Regions from separate parts of the Homo sapiens genome. Here region 1 is linked to region 2. The links are contacts of gene promoters, found by promoter capture Hi-C in blood cells and fetal thymus (Javierre and others, 2016). All regions are on one chromosome and are shown on one strand. Each heading gives the region's core, a stretch centred on a gene start or on the middle of the fragment in contact. The rest is flanking DNA. Distances are from core to core; before and after follow the strand shown. Region 1 has its middle 52 kb from the start of EYA4. Region 2 holds the start of EYA4-AS2 (EYA4 antisense RNA 2).

The links. Contacts are between HindIII fragments. The CHiCAGO score rates a contact against its expected background, and 5 or more counts as called.
Region 1: a fragment that was not itself captured here is called in contact with the fragment with the promoter of EYA4-AS2 in region 2 in 1 of 17 cell types (erythroblasts); the score reaches 5.0 in erythroblasts.

The regions. Positions count from the first base shown.
Region 1 is chr6:133,186,931-133,191,977 of GRCh38, reverse strand. No RefSeq gene overlaps it. Among named protein-coding and RNA genes, the nearest start is that of EYA4, 52 kb to the left of the region's middle. The HindIII fragment of the contact is 1,007 bases long and covers 1,659-2,665 here.
Region 2 is chr6:133,453,612-133,459,009 of GRCh38, reverse strand. It overlaps EYA4-AS2 (EYA4 antisense RNA 2), which reads left to right and starts at 2,405. Exons shown (of 3, transcript NR_199014.1): 1 at 2,405-2,476; 2 at 5,348-5,398. It overlaps EYA4 (EYA transcriptional coactivator and phosphatase 4), which reads right to left. Exons shown (of 20, transcript NM_004100.5): 6 at 2,362-2,454. The HindIII fragment of the contact is 6,300 bases long and covers 1-4,507 here.

The DNA.
Region 1 (5,047 bases), core at 913-3,412, 270 kb after region 2:
GGCAGGGTTTTTTTTTTTTTTTTTTTTTTTGCCTTTTTATGAAGGATGGGACAGAGCTGTCACTTTATATGAAAACAAGAAAGAGGAGGTCAGAGGTGTTTTTGATAGCAACACAAAGGACCTTTATATGGCTTTAAAAAGGATTGCAGTGTTAGAAGTCGAAGACCTTGGGCTTCCATTGGTTTACAGCAGTCATCTTGACCTCTCTTCTCTCCTTATAAAGGGGGCAATGGAAAGGCAGCAGGGAAGAAGGAAGAAAAATTTAGAAAATATTTTAGAAAATAGGACCTTGAAAGGAAATTAAAAATCTGAATTCTGCACAATAAGAAAATCCTGTTCACTGAGCCTGTTGAACAGTTATCAACAATTCTTGAGAAAATTCTAGCAGTTTCTATGTGGAGCCAGTTGCTTTCTAATTGCTACAGCAGGCTACCACTGGGAAGAACAAAGGAAATATTTAGCACATCATAAATTCTTCTGCTGCCCCGTAGAGTGGCTGGAGTTCAGATTACACATTTATAACTAGCATTTGAGAGCAATTTCTCCTTCACTTTGAGAAAGTTTTTGGGAGGCACTGTTCCTCCTACGATTCTGGAGGAATACAGACCCAGTGTTTAAATTTAACAATCCAGTTCATTTGTGTTGGGATATGGTGAAGCTTGGAAAGATGTAACAGTGAAATACATTTTCCCTTCCCGAATTTGCTTTTTAATGGAAGTCGATTTCTCAGTGACTGGGAAAGTGTACCTCAGATACTGGTGAGTTGTTTTGACAGCTCTCCGACCTGGGTGGTGGTCTTCTCTGAGGACCAAGACTGAGACAGAAGAATAGGCAGGACCTAAAAATAGACTCAGTTCACACAGTGAAGACAGCAAGTGGGAGAGAGGCAGTAAACATGTTTCATGTGGAGTGAAGAAGCTGTACTACAGAGCTAAGGAAGAAACCACCACAATCCAGTAATGACAACAAGAAGCCACTTGAAGCTAAGGAGTCAGAGGTCAACTGAGATGGACCTTGCAATTGCATGTATTTTACAGCTGAGGTACATGAGGGTCTGCAGTGTCTGACTTGTCTTTGCCTTTGGAGAAGATAGTTCAATTCTCTACAGATTTTGATGGGCAAGTTTTCTTAGCAAATAGAAAGACCTTGTCAAATAATTGGATGGTTTATTATTTATGAGTTGTCTCCACATTTAGGTCCTTATGACTGGCCATAGCCATAGGAGTATGTTGTAATTCTTCACCCAGATGATTGATAGAATATAGGAAGCCATTCTCCCCCATGACAGTAAGTTGATGTTTCACTCCAATACGTGGTAGAAAAGGCTGAGATTCATGTCTTTCCAATGAACGAAAAATGTATGCTATTTGTACTTGTGCAGCTATATTTCCTATTCTCCCCGCCCATGGAAAAGAATTGATAATCTTCTCACTAATTTGCCTTAACTTTTACTTGTGTATTAGCTATATTGGGGAAAATTTTCCAAATAAAATTGAAAAACCAAAGAAATAAAAACTAGATAGATTTTCTATTTATATGAGACTTACTCCAAGATACAATTTCTATAGATTTGAACCACAGAGCAGATTTTGTCTTTTTCAGGATGAACCTAAGCCATAACCTCACTATCTTTTCTACCCAAATTTATAATTGAAGCTTCATTTTGGTTTTATAGTGAAACATTACTGAAAGTTGGATAAATTTAACTTACGGTTTTGCTGTATAAGTAGATAAGCTGACTAAATTGAATAAGGCAGCTATTTAGTTGTCACATTTGTTCATTTAATGTTTACAGTTTAACTTCCAATATCTGCTATAATTTTGTCCACCTATCTGTTGCTTGACATGGCTGAATTTCTTGAATTTCTCGAATTTCTCAATTATATTTTCCATACAGCCCATACCTCAGTAGGAAAGAAATAATCTCTTTGTTTACACAGCGTATTCTCTGAACATAATCTAGTTAGGTAGTAAAGTTTGTTTGTTTGTTTGTTTGTTTTGGAATCTAGCATGATAACAAGTGTTAAAGGCAAATTAAAAATGATTCTATACTTTTACAATATCTGATTTTCCTGCACCATCATTCAGATGCACATATGAACTGCAAGAATTTATATCATGTGCACACCATTGCTTGAAAGCAAAAAGACTAGCCATATGTTTGTAAAAATATATACATATCTTAATAAATTTTCAATATTCAAAAAAATGAACAGAAAATTAGTGAAATGTATGGAGTGAGGAATAAAATAAGAATATTCGCTAACAGCTTGTCAAGAAATATGATGTTTGTGAATCTACACTGTCAGTTGATTTTCACAACAAATATATTATCTCTATGCAGCCAAAAGATTTCTAAACTCAGCCAGTGACTCGCTTACTTGAAGCAACACTTGACACAAACAAAATCCAATACAACCACTCTTTTGGATTTCATTTTGATAAAATTTATTTCCTATTCATAGGCATTGATAATATTGGTCTAGAATAACCAGATGCCTATGGAAATTTTGTTGAATAAGTAATTAATTACTATTTAAACTACACACTCTTACTGACATTTTAGTAACTCCAAGAAATTCAAGTATTTAAAAAACGAGCACAATATAAGAACAACCTCCAATAAATGTAATTCTAAGAGGGAATCTTTTATTGTTGTGAAGCTTATAAAATTGAAGGTCTCATGTTTTAAGAAGATAAAAAAGGAATTCTTTCTCTGCTGTGGAATAAATGGACTATCTCACCCATGAATAATGATTAACGTCCTTTCAGTTGGAGAAAAGCCTCCTAGGAGTTCACACCTGCAGCATTTGTGAATTACAGGCCCCCTTCCCTTGAAAGAAACTTAATAATCACTATTCACAGGTGAAGTGTGCTTCAGTTGGATATAAAAAGTTGAGATAAAACCCGTCTGCTTTGTTTCCAGTGCTGTTATTTTCCCAGCATTCCATCCCAATCTGTCACTGCAAAAATACTTGAGCAGCTTTAAAGTTATCCAAAGGTGATGTTGTAAATACCTTTTCTTTTCAGCTTAGTTCTGTGTTTATCAGAAATTCAAAGGTGGTTTTAAAGGTCAGAAAAATAAGCTGCCTAAAAACTTGGATTGAAACCCAAGTAATAAGGTCGGCATTTTTACAATCGTACTCTTCTTGTTGCCATCTAGGTCTAAACTGCCCTTCAGTTTCTTCATTTTGAACCGAAACCTACCAAGTCTGGCCATATAAGTATACATTTAAATAAGAATATAACTATAAAGTATAAGTTTGCATATAAGTTTGAGTGTAAAATTAAACGTACGCAAATGTAAATAAGAATATAAATGTATTTTTCCAATTTGACAGAAAGGGTTTTCATTATTCTTGTTTCCGTTTTAATCTAAGGAAGATGGTTATGTCATCTTCTCTCTACTTAGAGGTCATGGATAGCCCCACATGTCATCTACAGTTTGTTCACATATTTTCTTGGCTCACAGGATGTTTTTAGAAATGTCAAGCTATAATTTAAGATCTAGAAAATTTTACATTAAAAAAATCTAAATTTTGCAATTACTTAAAAAGTCTTCAGCTCTGGCAACAAACACTCCACTTGTATCCCCTCATGCTAAAAAGCTGACTGAAGCTGAGCATTGGCTGCTTTCTGTAGATCCAGCTTCTATCCTTTTTTTCAAAGCTACATGACTCATTTACTGCTTCCTCCCTGAACCCTGAGTGTGTGATCCTAGAAAAACCAAGTTATCATTCTTTCATCAGCCCTCATCTTTTCATATGGTTACTATTCACTAGCCAAACCGACCATAACTGTGTTTGAGTCTGCGCTTATGAATAGTTAGGTTTTAGTAGTGGAAATTGTGGTTTAGATATGCATTCTTTCATTTCTTGACTTTTAGACAAGCATTATATGAAACACTGAGGATGTAAAGATGACAAGGCAATTCTACCTTCAAGAAGATTACAATTTAGTTGGAAACAAAGAGATATGCAGTAAACACATAAATAAAACTTGCAAGTGCAATGATTAGGTATGGTAGGGGAATTAGAATGTGTAGAAGAAGGTCACCTGACCTAGGCAGGATATGGAAGACATGGCAAAGTTGAGGGGAAAGAGGGATAGGTTCAGATTTGGGCAGAGAAGTCTCTGCTGGGCCTTAGAAATTATGTAGGAGTTGGGGCAGCCAAGGGCACTCATGAGGAACAGGGAGTGAGCCAGTGGTTTGGTATTTCTCTTCTTTTGTCTTGGATTTATTTATGATAACCTGCTCTTTAACTTACATGTTATGCTTTTATTAAAGAAAACAAGAGTACTCAATATGCAGACATTCTTATATTTAAACTATCTATCAGCTATTTCACCACACGTTTTTTTTCCTCTAGTTCTGAATTCAGCATTATTTCTAACACTGTGATACTTTATGAACATTGCTCAAAAACAAATTTTACCACTGTAAGTCATATATTTTCCAAATACCCATCTACACTTCAGACATCATCCTTAGATTTTCATCTATGACCAAATCTGGAGAGATTTTAGCTCATGTATGAGAAAAAGAAAGAAAATAGAAACAAAAACTGTTTAGTAAAATGAAAACCCACCCCCACCCCCAACACGCAAAGAACACACAGAAAGAAACCTTATACAGAAATGCAATTTGTTAGGAGCTAACGTTATTAGCCACCACTGAGATAAGCAAAATTGATCTCAGACACAGAAAAGGAGGGGGAATAGTTTTTTCAGTGTTTTCTAATTGAATTTTAATATTTGATAATAGCAAACATTTTGTTTTGATGAAGCCAAATTGTTCACTAGTCTTAAGATTACAAATTAATTACATTTAGGATTACAATAAAGAAGAATGCCTACCAAGTAGAAGCAATAAAACATTCTAATGTAACTGCAGGGTTAGAATTATTATCTCATAAATAATTCATTTGTGAAATGCAATTTTTGTTCCTCTTTTAAAATATAAAATTAAAAAAGTAAGTGAAGGTCTTGTGGGTTTGTCATTGGTGTGTATTTAAAGAATAGTAATAGTTTTCTCATCTAACAGAAA
Region 2 (5,398 bases), core at 1,156-3,655:
TGGAATATCTTGTACAAACTTGAAAGAATTTCGTTTTATTCCCCACTGTCATCTGATTAATCATAAACATTACCCAAAACACTCATTACATTCCATCATTTCTGCATACAACAGTAAGCAAAACTGCTTGTTTTCAAAATGCCCTGAAAATTAATTTAAATACATGTTTAATATCTATTGTCAGTTTCTCTGATGGTGTCAAAGCAATTTTAAGGTTTCATTCTCATTATCGTGCCATCTTAGATTGGTGACTCTCAATGGGATGAGAAGTGGGTGGGGGTGAGAATTTTGCCTGCCAGGGGACACTTAAACAGTCTGGATACATTTTTGGTTGTCTTTAGTAAGACATCTTTGGTTGCTTCTTTAGTAAAGAAGCATCTGGGGGAGTGCTGCTGGCATTCTGGGATAGATGCAGCCAAACATCTTACAGTGCAGAGGATAGCTTTCCCACACTAAAGAATTAGCCCAAGTCTTTAACAGTGCTGATGTTGATAATCCCTGCCCTGGATCACTGCTGTGGAATAAAACTTTCCACAGTGTTGGAAATGTTCTGTATCTGAGCTGTCCAATATGGTAGCTGCTAACCACATGCAGCTGTTAAACACTTGAAATGTGTTTAAACTTGAAAATTCAGTTAAATTTTGGTTGCTGAAAATATTGAGAACTTAACGCCTCTAGTCGTACTTGATGATTTTCAAAATCAATTAATAAAAATATACTTACTGCAATATTGCTGTGAAAATGAAAATAAAAAACAAAATTTTTAATTTTATCAAATTTTAATAACCACATATGACTGGTGGCTACCTTACTGGACAGCACGTCCCTAGATACTTCTTTAAAAATTTGCGAAAATATCTACAAAGACAATATGAGTGAATTTCAGACAGGATGATTGTTCATGCCTATTTCTTTTTCCATCTATTTTCTGATGGGGCATTACAGAAAGGACCCAGGGACTGATCATAAGGACATGGTTTTAGATTTGTTTATACCACTGACCAGCTGTGAGGCCTTGACTGTATGGCCTTAACCACTTTTAACTTCTCTTGTCTACAAAACGGATCAGAGAGCTCTGAAATTCCTTCTGGAGCTAACACTTTATAGTTTTGTCATTCAGCTTTCAATTAACTTGTAGTATACTACTGAAGTAGGTCAGCAATAAGTTAATAACTCCATTCCTTTCCTTAACAATTTGTTCATATAGATTTATTTTGCAGAAAGTTTACAAAAGCTATGGTAAGTGTGCAATACAGAATACTGAACTGGTAACTATCTCCTGAGAGGCAGGTAAACTGCTAGAAAAGATGTGGATTAGTACATATGAGTCTCTGTGCAAAGTTTATGTACTATTATTTCTTTCTTGGAGTACTAATATTTATGTAAATATATGGCAACTGCTTCTAATCGGTGTGAACTAGTGAAATTAGATCATCTGTAAAAATCAAATATATGCTATAATGACATAATACTCTAAGACATATCTCAACTATTTTTACACAAAACATACTGACAAAAAAATCCTTATAACATGAGCACATGGATAAATGTAAAATGTATTAAAGTAGAATAACAGAACCGAGATTCAATTACCACAAATACTTTCCTAGGTTTAATGTTCTTCTTTCTGATGTACCCGATCCTCCTCAGGTTAGAAAAATCCTTTCACCAGATAAAAAGCCGAAGAAATATTGTAACTTAAAAAAATTTAATTAAGTCTACTTAATTCATGCCCTTTGTGCCCAGCTGGGAGTTATCAGGTATTTATATTTTAAAGGGATTGATGTTTAAAGACATGCTATTGTTCTCTTTGAAGCATTCGAGCGCTCTCAGAGGCTGGGTTCTAATGCAACCAGCATGTGCTCTCCTGCAGCCCATTAACCTTTAATACTTGTCACTCAGCTGCTTACACAGGAGGAGTTTTTTAAACCCAGAGAGGAAACAAGGTTATTTAGAAGGAATCAAATGGATAGTTTTACATCTCGAATGTTAAACAGAAGGCAGTTTTTATGTAATTCAAATGGGTAAGTTGAAGAAGCAAGGTCAGCTACTACAACTTAATTATTAAATTAATTAAACATCGTATAAAATAATTTTGAAGGAAGTTAAGTTTACTTATCCATAATAAGAAAGTCATGGGACTTTTGCTGTCAACTAAAATATCAAGCGAAATTATTCTAAATATAATTTATAACAATGCATACTGCTATGACTATGAGTTCTCAAAAAATAAGAATTTGTTTCTAACTTTATAAGGATCAAAGTTCTAAGAGCTTGGATGCTTATGTTGCTTATTCCCGAGGAGGAGGATGTGGATGCACCCCCATGTGTACGTAAGGACACACGAGCTAAAGGCTTTACCTGACCCAGTAAAAGTGTCAAGCGCTCCATCTCCAGTCGTGGCTGTGGTTTCACTGCTGTTCAAGGGCTCTGTTTTGACTGCAAGAAGAGACACTACGTAGAAGAATAAGTACATGTGAGTTTTACTTCTAAATTTATGTCAAAGACTCTGTCCGTTCTACTAGTGATATTTCTAGCTACCATGGGCATGCAAGAGAAAACCTGAGAAGTTGATGAAGAGAGTTTGTTAATTTAGCTTCTAAACGGGCATGCATTTAGAGGATTTAATCTAAAATCCTCTGGCCAAGCTAGTTCTCTCAAATCCAGCTTTTAAAGGCAGTCAGCCTTAAAAAGTGAAACAGCAGTACACATATTTGTATTTTTAATTCACCTAAACACACTCTCATATAGTCAATAGGAAAGAAGGAATCATCATCAGTCTTCAGCACATTTAATTAAAATTATACCAAAGAAATTTACTAGCTTATATTTTATTTTTCCCAGGAAGATATTTTTTAAGTTTGCATAATAATACAATGGAGACATATAAAAGTATAGAAACCATGGGCTCATTCACACAATGAATGAAAAATGAAGCACTCAATGAAGCTCTAAAAAAGACTCACGAGCTATAAGGTGTTGGGCTTCATACTTTAATGGCATAACAATTTTTAATATGTTTAGAGATAAGCGTAGAAAAAGAGATGACTTCTACAGCAGCAAGTACACCTTTTGAAAACTCATTTTAATATGTTATTTCTACGTGGTAATGGTGTATTTTGGCAAAATCTTTGCTTGGTAACAAAGTGGCCTAGTACACATTATTATCATTATTAGATGCAACAAGGGTGATGGGGCGTGAGAATAAAGTTTTACCCATTTGGTCACACCATATTTTCCCTTTGTTGGCAAGGCTTTACTACATATATCATAGCAGCAAGGAAATAAACTAAGCTATTTTCTACTTAACACCTCTTGTGTTTCCTGGTCATAAGTGAAATGAATGATACAGTTAAATAACTTAGAAGCAAGCAGAAAATTATAAAGAAGAAAGCTGAAGACTAGCCAAAGGACAAAAAAGAACAGTCAGTCATAGGGTACCCACCAATCACACAAGTCAGTAATGTTATTCTGTTAGAAAAGAAATTAATTGATAGAAAACCATGCGGTAATGATTATGCTCTTTTCCACATGAACAGAATTAACCAGACCTTCAGTGAGCTCTGGGTTAATTTAGTATCCATTATTTATTAATGACATGATCAGCTGGAAGATTCAGAGGAGAAATGTAAATGTTGGAAACAGAAAGTAAAGAAACTTGGATTACTTTTCTTAGCAAAAAAGCAAACTCAAGTTTGACTTATCTTTCAAGAGCAACAATGATCTGAAGAGTAGTCTAATTATTTATATAATGATAAATAATGAATTGGTGGTTATTACTTTTCAGTAGTAATTTGCACAGTAATCCCTATTATGGTTATACCTTATCAATAACTAAACCTATCATTATAAAATCATTTTATCACCTTTATATTTACTACTATAAAACTAATACTTATTGAGAGCTTGCTACGTGCTAGATGATGTACATTTAGCTAATCCTTAAAACAACTCTAATTAATACAAATCACTATAACCATTTTATAGACAAGGAAACTGAAGTTCAGGGGGGCTGAAAAGCCTGCATAAGTTCCAGTGCAGGAGACGGTAGAGCTAAGATTTGAACTCAGGTTTTTAGCTCTAGTATGCAGGATCTTTCCACCGTATCAGGCTGCCTTCAGGTACGAAAATAGCTTATGCTCATGACAGTGTCTCTTCTCAAAGGCCCAAAGCATGATGAGAATGCAATTATCTCCTAGATAGAATAATTAAAAATACTTCACTGAAAATAAAAACTGCAAAATACTGGAATAGGATACTAAGGCATGTTTCCCATTTCTTCCTCATGGGATATTTTAAAAGACATCAAGAAGTAGCAAATTTGAAATTAGGTAACAGTAACAGCACACCCTTAAAATGAACTTGATACATTCCAGGCACTTCTCTTGTCCTTTACACCTACTGATTTACTCCTCTCAACAGTCAGTAGATAATATCATCATCTTTATTTTTCAGATAAGGAAACTGAGGCACAAAAAGGTTAAATAACGTCCCCAGTCACAAAGCTTGTAAGAGCTAGAATTTGAGACCAAGTAGTGTGTGTTCAGAATCCAAACTCTTAAACCATACTGCCTCTCAGGCAGCACTAGCTAATCAAGAATTCCTTTTGTCTGTATGAAGATAATGCAGAGTATAATCTAGATGGGTATCAAGGCTACTCCATTTCACGCAATGTTTACAATTGAGTTCTAACATTTATGACAAAAAGTCATGGCCCAAAGCCTTCAGCAAAACTAAGAAACAGTTTATCAGAGCTTCTGACTTCTACTTGCAGCTAAATTCCTATTTATGCATATCTATATCTACGAACAATATTTGCAAAAGTAGCTTTATTATACTAATTGTAATATAGATTTTACTTGCGAATGGAGGTGGCAGAATGTGAGCTGTGTCTAACGAAACTGGTCTAGAAGCCAGACATGAAGATTAGTTTTGTTACTTTGAATTTCAACTTTGAGACCCAATTTCAAAAGCTTAGTATTGATTTTGATTATAATCTCTTCAATTTGAAAGTTTGGGGAGGTCAAAAGGAGAAAGAAGAAGGAGAGAGTGAGTTTTTGGTCTAATTCATTATACTGGAAACATCTCTCATTAAAATTTTAAAGGTTTGCTTTTAGTCAAAGATAGACAAAGGAAGTTCATTTTACTGAGAAAAGCCATCCCTGGGAAAGTATATGAAGAGAGGAGTAACAAGCAAGATGTGTTAGCTTTACTAAAATGCCTGAATTTTAAAGTAATGGATGCTAACATTTGAGGGGAAGTGGTACATGTTAATGTAAAATTGTTTTTCCTATGCAAGGGTAGAACAAAATGGAAAAGTAGAAATAAAACATTTATTCTGTCACAGAAAATAAGCTGCATTCATACTAAGTGAGCATCAACAAGCACCTCTTGATCT